3 separate regions of the Homo sapiens genome follow, and regions 2 and 3 are each linked to region 1. Evidence: promoter capture Hi-C in 16 types of primary human blood cells and fetal thymus (Javierre and others, 2016). All regions are on one chromosome and are shown on one strand. The core of a region is centred on a gene start or on the middle of the fragment in contact, and the rest is flanking DNA. Distances in the headings are between cores, read along the strand shown. Region 1 holds the start of ELL2 (elongation factor for RNA polymerase II 2). Region 2 holds the start of ST8SIA4 (ST8 alpha-N-acetyl-neuraminide alpha-2,8-sialyltransferase 4). Region 3 holds the start of FAM174A (family with sequence similarity 174 member A).

Region 1 (3,803 bases), core at 405-2,904:
GGAGTGTGTTCCTCAGTACCGAACGGGCTATTTGTAAGATGCCCCGTGGGTTCTATCTCCCTTCCGACTCTCTCCTCTCCTGTAAAACGTTACAGGTTCCCCCATATGGCATATCCCTCCCTCACGCGATGTATCCACTCCGGTCTCCCACAGTACTGCATGTCCATAAACTGTTTCCCCATGCACCCTGGTTACCGCGTCCCTTCTCGGTGCTTCCCTGTCTCTCCCATTTTTTTTCCAACATGAAAGCGTCTGGATTTGTAGTCCAATTACAGTGTATGTGCGCCTATCTGAGCCTCTCTCTGTACTGGAGGGGTGTGTGTGTATATGTGTGTGTGTGTGTCCATGGGCTTCTCTCGAAAACGAGGGGTGAGAGGCCCGAGTCTCTGCCCGGGATGCATTGTATCCTCCCCACACCTTCTGGCTCTGGCTCGTTCCCCGTTTACACTTCCCAGAGTCAGCCCAAGACGCCGGGAGCTTTTTCGGGTACGTTGAGCGTCCGTGAACCTCTCTCTCCAGAACCCGATGTCTTGCTCCCGGGGAGCGCTAAGTGTGCGTGAGTCCTCAGGTCTCTCCCCAGGGCACTGTGTTGGTTTGTGTCCGTCCTGGACGCGGCGCGTCTCCAGTAACGCGATGCGCCGGTGTCCCGGAGTCCCTGGGAATGCAGGTGTGTCCCCTCCCCCCCCGTACGCGAAGCGCCAGTGTCCCCGCCGTTCCAGTGTGCGCCGCCCCCTTACACGGACTGCCTAAGTCCCTATCTCTATGAGTACACCGTGTGCCCCTCACCATGCGCCCGAGTCCCCATCCCTTCGAGCACACAGTGTGTCCCCTGATACGTGGAGCGCCTGTGTCCCCAAGTCCCTGGGAATACAAGGTCCCACCCCCACACGCGGAGCGCCTGTGTCCTGTCTCTGAGGATCCACCGTGCCTATGTAACTGGAAAACGCGGGCAGCTGGTGCCCGCGAGTCGTCCCTGGTTCCTTGCCCATACGCTGCTCGCTACCCTCCTTCCCCGCCGAGGGTAGCGTGGTCATCTCACTTCTCTTATCGGGGCCTCTCTCCCTCCTTGGGACCCAACAAGCCAGGAAATCCTCGGGGGCCGTCGGAAAGTCCCGCAGCGGCAGCGCAGCCGACCCAGGGCTGCGGCTGCCTCGGCCCCGCCGCCAGGGGCCGCCCGACTGCCCGCTTCCCCAACGCCCAGGCTAGCCCGGGACCGCGGCGTCAGCCACCCTGCCCGGCCCTGCCCTGCCTGGCCGCTGCGGGCGCTGACGGTAGCAGCTGCCAGCCACGGCTCCGCCGGCCCCGCACCCGGGCGCGGCCAGGCCGTGAGGGGTGCGCTCTGCCTCTCTGAGCCCAGCCTGCCGGCCGGCCCGCTCACCTTGTGGCTCTGGTAAGTCTCGAGCGCCCGGATCGCCGTCTCGGTGAGCTTCACATGCAGTACGGTGATGTTGTCCTGCCCCAGCCGTCCGCACGACAGCCCATAGCGCTGCTCCTCCCGCAGGCCCCCTGTCCCCCCCGCCGCCATCTTAAACTCCCCGGGGTGCCGCCGCCGCCGCCGCTCCGGCTCTAGCCTCCACTGCGGCCGCGGCTGCTTGGGCTTCTGCAGCCGCCGCCACTGCTAGGGCCATCCCGCTGCTGACGTACTGTCATATACTGCGCGGAGCCAGACCTCGGACTGCCACCGCCGCCACCCGCCCCACCCTCCGGCCCCGCGCCCCGCCCCGGGCTCGTCTCATTGGTCTTGTTCCCTTCAGAACCGCCCTCATCGGCCGCCCTCCACTCTCACGGGGGCGGGCCCAAAGTCACTAGAGTTTTGCTCCTGGGACGGGACGTCCGAGAGGTAAGAGGCTGACGTCTAGGTGACGCGCCAACTTAATCATGTCTGACGTCACGTCTGGTCGTCTTGGCTAGCCGGCCGAGATTGGCCAGGCTGGCTTGGGGACTCCCCTGCTAATTGGAAGTCCAGGTTGCCTGGTCTGGTTACCTGGAGTTGGAGCCCCGCCCCTGTGGGGGATAGTAGTGAAAAGTCAGAATTGGGGAATCTCGCCCTACGCGGGTGGTCCTTGGAGAGGAGGATCTCCACCTCCACTATGTAAGGGGATGGCCGTGACCAAATAAGGACTTTGTTCCCCGACGGCTGCGGAAGCTGTGGAACTTGGTGCGTGCGTGTGGGGGAGGACGCAGCAGGAGGACTCGCTAGAGAGCTGCTCCTCAAAACTCCTAGTACTGTAGTTGAGCAAACGGCATTGGGAGGAAACTGCTCACTCTAAACTTGAAGTTATCGGGTGCCACACGCAGAGCTTATAAAAACAAAAACAAAAACAAAAACCCTTGAAATTAGTGAGTCGACTCTTAGATGTAGGAGTTGTGTTAGATCTTGTGGAGCATCTTAAGGACAAAATCACGCGGGAGGTTAAATGCCTTTCGTATGGTGGGCATGGTATAATAGAGAATTGAGCTTCGAGGTCTTTCCTACGCCATGCCCTGTTGTGATTCTCTGGGATCACAACTGGTGGGGATGATATCTCCTTAAAAAGGACTCTAGAAGAAGAGTAAAACTGGCATTGATCTAAATTAAAAGAAACCTCGACAATTCTCATTCTCTAATTCAGTTTGAGTATTGTCCTTTTTATTTGATAGGGCTGTGTGAAAACCTAGCTAGGGTTTAAAGGTAAGAGGCTGTCGAGGTTAAGCGAAGGAGATGGGGGCGTGAGGGGCGTGCAAAGGCCTGGCATACTTTCCATTCCATCCACAGGATGCTTCCTGTGTAGGCGTGGCTAAAAGAGGGAGCCTAATCTGGAGTCCCTTTCAGATTGTGTGTGGATAGACTGACAGATGGGTTCCTGTCAGAGGATGGATTAATTGGTTGATCAGAAACACCAGATAAAACAAACCATTGAAAGCTTTCAAACTGTTGAAAGGCAGTTTAAAAAAGTTCTTTTAATAAAAAAACTGAGACGCTTGTTTTTACCCTCAGCTTATAAAACCATGTTCTGTTCTACTGGGATTCCCCGGGAAAGTTTATAGATATTTAATCAGTATTTTTCATTATTTTAAATGGATTAGGGCCATGATTCCATGTCCTCCCCTCCCAATAAATGCCTTCCCCACCGTACGGGTACACTCCTTTTTGATTCAGACCTTCAAACATAGTAGGTGTATAATGTGAATTACAGAATGAATTGGATTAAGTGGAAACACCTGTATTAAGTGTTACTCCATCACAGGAAAACAGTTTGTAAATTGACTTAATTTCAATCCACTAAGATTGGCTAGCTGTTAAGACGTGATTAACGCTTGCTAATTTCATTTACTTTAGTGATACAGTGTTATCTTAAATTCATGTAGTAGAGATATTAAGGTAATCATCAAATTGGATTAAAAAGTTTACTCTTAGAAGGGAAATAGAGGCTTTACTACCTAGTTTTCTCCGCTTTCCAAAAGTAGAAACCTTATTCAAATAGTTCATCTCTAAGCGGACTATAATCTAAAAATAATTCTGTACTTGAACTTTTCTTTTCTCTCTCTCTTTTTTTTTTTTTTTTTTTGATAGTAAAGGACTGAGCACATAGCTAAAGCCTTAATTATTTGGGAGGTGAGGGGGAAGGGAGGTTTGACCGGAACAAGTAAAACCTGTATCCCACTGCTTTTCCGGTGAATGTGGGTAAATCCCCACCCACATGATATCCTAACTTGGCCTACTCTTACTCAGAATTTCTGATGACATCCAAGCGGGTGGGGGAGGAGTAAGGATGGTTTTCGTTGTAGTTTTCAAATATCTGACCTGTAGCTTCTTACTAGTA
Region 2 (3,803 bases), core at 364-2,863, 4.9 Mb after region 1:
TCCAGTCCGCTTTGACTGTGCTACTGTTTTCCTGGTTTTCTACAGAATAGCAAGTCCTTCTGTAAGGATCAACCTGCATCTTGCTCGCTTAAATAAATGCTTATTACCTAGGGAGCAGGAATATTAAGAAATGGAGTGCAGGAAGTTTAAGAGCATGTGTGTGTGTTAGCAGTCCCATCTCTCTCTCTCTCACACACACATACACACACACGCAAGGGCTGTTTTCTTTGTTTTAATCAATGTCAGAGAAAAATATAAACTGGGCAGGCATCTCTGCTGGTGTGTAGTTTCTGATAGAGGACGCCTCCAAACCGGAACAGGGAGGATTTCCGAAACAGGACTTTGAATAGAGTTGACAATCAGGTTCACATCCTCAGAAAAAGCCTTCCAAGCTATGTCAGCAACACAAAGTTGCACCACCTCCTGGGTAAACTTCAAAGACACAGAGGCCAGCGGGTGGAAGGAAGTGTGATATTTAGAGAACTTAGTGGGGCGGGGGAGAGTCTGAACTCATCTAGACAAACTAAAAAAAATAGCAGAAATATAGTCTGTGTGAAGCTACAGTACCCAGTTTCTTTCTAAAACTGTAACCATGACGCCCATGCGTTTTAGCCGTAGAAGAACAAATAAGGAAGTATCCTTAGTGGTACTGGAGTTTCTAATTCAAATTATAACACATTAATCTATCCAACGTCAAATAGAAAAAAAAAAAGTAGAGAAACAGAGTATACCTATTTCCTGCTTTCTAAGCTTTAACTTCAGCCCTTCGAGAAACCATCTATCTCCAGTATCTCCTTAGGTGATAGGACATTGAAAACAGGCAACCGTTTGGTGAATAAAGACATTTCTCTTGAGTTCTGCCCACAGATTAAAAGGACAAGGACACACGTTCTTTGTTGACACTTCTGCAGTGACTTCTCCTTTGGCGAGAGAGCACCCAGGGCCAACACAACTGTCACCACAACCACACAGAGCAAGTTGAACTCATACTGGGAACAGCTTAGAGAAGCACGCACATCTCAACAACAGCCTTTGTTATTTAATTCATGACACTAACCACGCGCAAGCTCAAACAAACACACATGCTATCCTAACCATCACTCTACCCTCTATATTCACATTTCATTTATGGCTTGACTTTTTGTCATATCCTGAAATGAAGCTTTGCATTTACCCGATGAGTTGCGTCTCCTGGTGCTCCTCAGTTCTTGCTATTTCTTTTGTCTTATAAAAGATCAGGAGCAGACTTATTGTGCAGATCGTCCACCTCTTCCTAATGGAGCGCATCTTGGGTGCCCGAGAAAGTCCTGGTTGCCCCAGCTCCCGCACCTTCTCTTGATATAAAGGCTCCGTTTTGGGGAGATAGTCGCGGGGGTGAAATCTGTAAAATGCGAGGAGAGCTTGGAGCCGGGATCCCGGGATCAGATCACTGGGGTCTTCTGTGGCCGAGCTCCCTCTGGTCCTCGAACGCTGCCCAGCGACCTCTCGCCCTGTTTGCGCCAGCTCTGCCAGGGTCGCTCCGCGCCGCCTCCCTGGGGCTCAGGTTTCTTTTCAGATGAGACACCTTGTGCATTGGAGGTGGCGGCAGCTTCTGCAGCTGGGTTCGGGGGCGTCACTGGCCCTTCCCTCTTGCTAGGAGATAAACGCTGCGCAAAGCCAATCACCAGGCTGAGGGGGCGGAGGCTGCTTGGAGAGTAACGTCCCCGGCTCTGCCTGCTCTGTGCCGGGAGAGGAAGCTCACAGTGCTACGCGCCTGCGAGCTCGCGCACATACACATATACATACATACACACATACATACATATGCACACACACGTACACGCAGAATCACACACACTCTCCTGGGACATCAAAGCATCAGCTCTCTGGACCTGGGAGCTCCAAGATAGTCTATCCGCATCTAGGTGAGAGGGCACCTCGCCTGGGGACAGATTACAAAAGCGTCCCGCCAGAGGAATGCTTCAGGTAGAGCTAGGGGTGGATTGCAAGAAGAGTACCTTCTTTCAATCGCTTTTGCTAAACACACACCCTCACACGCAAAAACACGCCCTCCAAGGTGGAGTGAAACGGGGTGCGGGGGTGGGGACGGCGGTGGAAGGAAGAAGACTTTTATTACTCAATCTGGAAAGTGCAAATACACACATGAACCTGTTAGCCGATGGGCCCACTCTGCATGGGTGGTGGACGACGACCCTGGCTCAGGATTCTGCAGGAAACAAGTGATGATAGAGGTGTCATTAGGAACTTTATGGATATTTATGCGCCTCCCTTTCATTGCCATTTGGAAACTCCTCACGCAGAAGTCAAGGAAACTCCAATCCCACTTAAACTTCATTGCGGAGAAACAGAGTTCTGAAAAAAAAGCAGCTACCATGGACCTCTCTTTTAAACGCAAGTACACCCACACACATTCGGATACCAAGGAAGGAAGGAAAGAAAGAAAGGAAAGAAAAGGGAGGGGAGGAAGGAAGAGCAAAGTCCTCTCTAAAAGTCTCAATTATATATATAGCCTCTGATTGTCACCTCTCCTCCGTCCCACCATTTTTCGTACTTGTATTGGGTGGCAGGGACACTTTTCAAGAGTTCTGTGTTCGATTGTTCACTCTGAGTACCTCTCCACCATCCTCCAGTCGTTGCCCTCATTGGGAGAGATGCTTGCTACTCTGCTAGTACCACGCCTTGGTTCCGGTCTTTACTGTTGGCTGGTAGGTCGGGAGGCACCTCTAGCATGAGACAGTGTCTGGAAGCCAGGATTTCCCTCATCTATATGCGCCGGTCCCCAGCTCCCTGGTCGCCAGGGTTTCTCTCCAGTTGAATTCCGTGTTCCTTCAGGTTGAACAGTAGCTTCAGCGGTTTTTCACGCTCAGAAATGATGAGGCCCAATTCCAATCTTCCCTCCCGCCGGAAGTAAGAAGGGGAATTCTGAGTTGCTTGTCGCCTGACAGCTTAAAATAGCAACGAAAACAGCCAGCATCTTTGCTTAAAAACCCAAGGTTCCCGCCAGTGTTTACCATACTTCCTCTAGAGTTTAAGAAGTTAAGAACTTCCGAGATCTTGAATTTCCTCTTTGCAGCACAGCGAACGGGGTCGGGTATAAAAATGCTCCAAGGAGCAAGTAATTACGAACGTTTATTGACACTACAAGTGGCCCACAGGGAGCCTTTCGAGTTTATTGATGTCTAGGCAAATCCAGCCTGCATTAATGCATTTCTGTTAGATTGACTTCTGTTAGACTCACTTTTCTTCTGGCAAAAACTGCCAGAATAAAACAGCTTCTTATTTAAGTTAAAAGGGATCCGGGGCTGAGGGCAGGGGTCGGGTGGGAGAGGGATGCATGGTTAGGATGCTAAATTCTCAAGGATAAACTTTGATTTTTAAACAGTAGACAACTATATTTTAGATTATAGGTAAAACATCACTCTCTGTCAGGGATAGAGTAATATGCATCGTTTCATTAAACTCATTATTTCTTAAGCAATGGTTATGGGGCAGGCAATGTGTGCGGAGATGGGAACACAAAGATGAATAAAACTTAGCATCTAGTCAGACACAAATCCTACTCACTCAAAGGGGGCATCTTTTAAAAATAATAATTTACAGTATGGCAACATGAATCAGAAACATCATTTAAAATATATATGGTATCTGAGTAAGCTCCTGGGTTGAAGCAGATGGGGTGTTTAAGCCTTTTGAAGCCCGGAAGATGAGTTTCCGGGTGAAGGGGACACACAGACTCCTGTTTTCAAAGCTGACAAGGAAGTAAGCCAAGCAGAGGGAGGATAGAACATTGCAGGTGGAAAAAG
Region 3 (3,803 bases), core at 834-3,333, 4.6 Mb after region 1:
TTACTGTGCTCTTTTTAGAATACCATATTGTTTGTAAAACATCATTATATAATGACATCTTGAAATCTGTCATGGGAATGAACAAAAATTTTCCTAGGAGAAGATACTGTGTTTTGTTTGTGCAATAGAAAGTTACAATTTTGAGCACAAATATCTATGTGAAATACAATCTTTCAAACTAAGTAAAATTAGTTGTTTATGAATTTTTCTCTTAATTTTAATATACTTGTTCATTTACTTGTTATCAATTGGCTTGCAAACAAGTTGTACCAAGCACAGGATATAAAAAAAAAATACATAAATAAGGGGAAAAAATCTCAGAATGAGAAATTTGTATCAGGTTACTGCCACATTATTATATTCTCCTAATTAATACCATGATTTGATTCTAGCTTCTTAATCAACTATTGCTAGAATAATGTGGCATAATCAATAACCATAGAAATATCAGTGGCATACAGCAAATAAGCATTTATTTTTCACTTCTTTGGTCAAGCTGGGGTTGACTAACTTAAGCTAACCTTGGCTGCATTTGGTGCCAGGCTATAGGTTTAGTCATAGTTTACGCCAGATATCCCACAGTCTACTAGGATCAGAGGACTAGCTGGGTCATATTCTTTTCAAGGTTAGGGCCAGAACTTTCTGTGCAGAGAGGGCAGGCAAGTGAAAGGGGGAAAGGAATAATGAGAGAGGTAGGTGTGTGTATGCATGTGTGTGTGTTTCTGGCTCTCTCTCTGTATATATCTACCTGTATCTGTCTCTCTTTTAGCAATGAAAACAATAACTTACTCAAAAGACCCACGTATACCCTTGACAGGCATCTCATTGGTGAGAGGTACATCATGCGGCCACTTCTAGTTATCTGCACAAATTGAAGTTCCATATTACTGAAGTCAAACAGGCAAGGAAGACATTATTGAAGACTACTGCTGTTGGGAAAGGGGATAAAACTCTTCTAATCTCAACTCCTCTAAAAGAAAAAAAGGAGTGGAGAGTTATTAAGAGCTATTTTGGGAAGATCACCGGCCACCTGAGTTTGCTGATTGACTTTACCCAAAGGAAAAGTAAATTTTCTCCTCCATGACAGGAGGTGGTTTTACAACTTGAAGCGAGAAGCCTACAACAGTTAGGTTCCTTTCCTCTCACACAAAATAAGAGATGGCCCACTACCTTCCTTGCTGATTATATTTCAAAGGCATGATGGCTTTCCATACCCTTGAGATAGTTTTCAATTATATAACTGGCCAGAAGCTTTAAAAAATATTTACATCTGAAAAGGGAAGAGAAATAACTTACAATGGTAAAGTTTTCTAAAGTAATTTTTTTTAATATACTTTAAGTTCTAGGGTATATGTGCACAACGTGCAGGTTTGTTACATATGTATACATGTGCCATGTTGCTGTGCTGCACCCATTAACTCGTCATTTACATTAGGTATATCCCCTAATGCTATCCCTCCCCCCTACCCCACGACAGGCCCCGGTGTGTGATGTTCCCCATCCCGTGTCCAAGTGTTCTCATTGTTCAATTCCCACCTATGAGTGAGAACATGCAGTGTTTGGTTTTCTGTCCTTCTAATAGTTTGCTCAGAATGATGGTTTCCAGCTTCATCCATGTGCCTACAAAGGACATGAACTCATTACAAGCAAATGCTCTTTAGAAAGGGAGGTCAGGGACCCATAGGCAGGAAAAAAAGCCTGCTTAAAGCTTGTAATGAAGCTAAGGAAAACTAAGCCCTTCTGGCTTACAGATTAAATGTGTTATTGCAGTTTGACACCAATGAATTCAGATTATGAGTTTCCAATCTCTCAGGGTTCCTGCATGAGAGAGTTGCTGTACATTTTACACAATCTCTTTTTGTCTACTTACTTTCTTAATACGCATCCTTGACCGCTCCTCACTAACAGTGAAAAGAACAATGCTTCCAAAACGGTCACGTCCTCGCTTTTTACACAAGTGCGCGTGCGCACTGGGCGCTAGGCCTCTGACGTCACCAAGTGCATCCGCCCCTACAAGTTAGCAACCGAAGGCGTCCTTAGCAGCAGTGGCCGCTGAGATGTACGAACTTCCGGTTCTCCGGGCAGCTGCCACTGCTGTAGCTTCTGCCACCTGCCACGACCGGGCCTCTCCCTGGCGTTTGGTCACCTCTGCTTCATTCTCCACCGCGCCTATGGTCCCTCTTGGAGCCAGCGTGGCGGGCCTGGCGGCTCCCGGGTGGTGAGAGAGCGGTCCGGGAACGATGAAGGCCTCGCAGTGCTGCTGCTGTCTCAGCCACCTCTTGGCTTCCGTCCTCCTCCTGCTGTTGCTGCCTGAACTAAGCGGGCCCCTGGCAGTCCTGCTGCAGGCAGCCGAGGCCGCGCCAGGTCTTGGGCCTCCTGACCCTAGACCACGGACATTACCGCCGCTGCCACCGGGCCCTACCCCTGCCCAGCAGCCGGGCCGTGGTCTGGCTGAAGCTGCGGGGCCGCGGGGCTCCGAGGGAGGCAATGGCAGCAACCCTGTGGCCGGGCTTGAGACGGACGATCACGGAGGGAAGGCCGGGGAAGGCTCGGTGGGTGGCGGCCTTGCTGTGAGCCCCAACCCTGGCGACAAGCCCATGACCCAGCGGGCCCTGACCGTGTTGATGGTGGTGAGCGGCGCGGTGCTGGTGTACTTCGTGGTCAGGACGGTCAGGTGAGGCAAAGCCTCGGTGGGGCACCCCCGTGGGCCTGAGATACGCAGGCCGGTGATCTCCAGCAAGGCTGACTTCTGTGACCCTTTCCCCCTTCCCCAGCATCAGGGACTCCTGCTTAAGAATATGATATTGACTTTCTTAAAGGCCTGTTACCTTTGGAGCAATTTAAACCTATAACTAATTGCTGCCTTTTGTTTATAAATGAGTGCCCTACCTCCAAATCTCTTCATCTGACCTACAACCCACGTCAGCCTCAAAGGGCACCCTTTCTCTGAAGTGAGGATAATCTTTATTCCCTAGAATTTTGACTACTCTGTCTTGTAATACTTCTACCTTTCTAGTCTAAATTTTTGTATACCTAACTGGTCAAAATTTTGCCAATCAGAATGCAAACTCTTTAAAGACAGGATATCTATTTAGTAGGTTTGTGAGTCTTACAAATTATTTGTACAATGCTGCCACTTAATAGGAAATCAATATATATTTGAGTGGATTAATAGTAATATAGAGGTGCCTTATGGATATTTTATTTTTATAAAATTCAGGAGAAGAAAAGTTCTTCCTTACTATCAGTGTTTCCTAGTATTGCCCTTTAATCTGCCACCTAAGTGGCAGAGAATCACCTTCCTGAAGAGTTGACATACAGAGCCAAGACCTCACCATTAGGAGAAGCCAGCAAAGAGATAAGGTGAGGGAAAGCTGTCTAGCAGTTTATTTCATTATAAAATAAGTGTAGAGGGTAGGTTTGCAGCTTATGTTTGTTTATTGTTTTCAAAATTCACGTTTTTCCCATAAATACCCTCTGTATTGTAATTTAACATATTTCTTTAAACTGATTATTTAAAGCAAAAGTTTCCTTTTAAACAAGTCGTTATTATCATGAATGGAAAACCAACATCACTTGGCTAGTTAAAAAATAGTGTAAGCCAGTGGTTCTTGACATGTGGGCCAGGGAACCACACAGGTGGGAGTTTCACTTAGACCTCTTCAGGGCATCTACAGTATTAAAACTATTTTCAAAATAATACATTCTGTTACAGGCTTATAGGGTACAAGTAGTTCATTGATATTGTTTCAGATTCCACATTGCAACTAATCTTTAAGAAACTGCTTGTCAAGTTTTGGTGT

Evidence for each region. Contacts are between HindIII fragments. The CHiCAGO score rates a contact against its expected background, and 5 or more counts as called.
Region 2: the fragment with the promoter of ST8SIA4 here is called in contact with the fragment with the promoter of ELL2 in region 1 in 6 of 17 cell types (total CD4 T cells, total CD8 T cells, activated CD4 T cells and 3 more); the score reaches 8.0 in total CD4 T cells.
Region 3: a contact is called between the fragment with the promoter of FAM174A here and the fragment with the promoter of ELL2 in region 1, in 1 of 17 cell types (total B cells). The highest score is 5.5, in total B cells.

What each region holds. Positions count from the first base shown.
Region 1 is chr5:95,960,197-95,963,999 of GRCh38, forward strand. It overlaps ELL2 (elongation factor for RNA polymerase II 2), which reads right to left and starts at 1,655. Exons shown (of 12, transcript NM_012081.6): 1 at 1,379-1,655. The coding sequence starts at 1,525. LOC101929710 (a long non-coding RNA gene) reads left to right here and starts at 1,805. Exons shown (of 5, transcript NR_130776.1): 1 at 1,805-1,840. It also overlaps a transcript of CAST not described here. RefSeq lists silencers at 1,069-1,478, 1,549-1,788, 1,744-2,211 and an enhancer at 1,507-2,264. The HindIII fragment of the contact is 3,633 bases long and covers 1-2,901 here.
Region 2 is chr5:100,901,669-100,905,471 of GRCh38, forward strand. It overlaps ST8SIA4 (ST8 alpha-N-acetyl-neuraminide alpha-2,8-sialyltransferase 4), which reads right to left and starts at 1,614. Exons shown (of 5, transcript NM_005668.6): 1 at 1,175-1,614. The coding sequence starts at 1,287. It overlaps LOC107986437 (a long non-coding RNA gene), which reads left to right and starts at 1,740. Exons shown (of 2, transcript XR_001742825.3): 1 at 1,740-3,803. RefSeq lists enhancers at 702-1,271, 1,757-1,996, 2,777-3,016. The HindIII fragment of the contact is 2,860 bases long and covers 1,161-3,803 here.
Region 3 is chr5:100,533,291-100,537,093 of GRCh38, forward strand. It overlaps FAM174A (family with sequence similarity 174 member A), which reads left to right and starts at 2,084. Exons shown (of 3, transcript NM_198507.3): 1 at 2,084-2,674. The coding sequence starts at 2,241. FAM174A-DT (FAM174A divergent transcript) reads right to left here and starts at 1,953. Exons shown (of 5, transcript NR_172939.1): 1 at 1,871-1,953; 2 at 790-862. RefSeq lists an enhancer at 2,043-2,342. The HindIII fragment of the contact is 3,135 bases long and covers 1,707-3,803 here.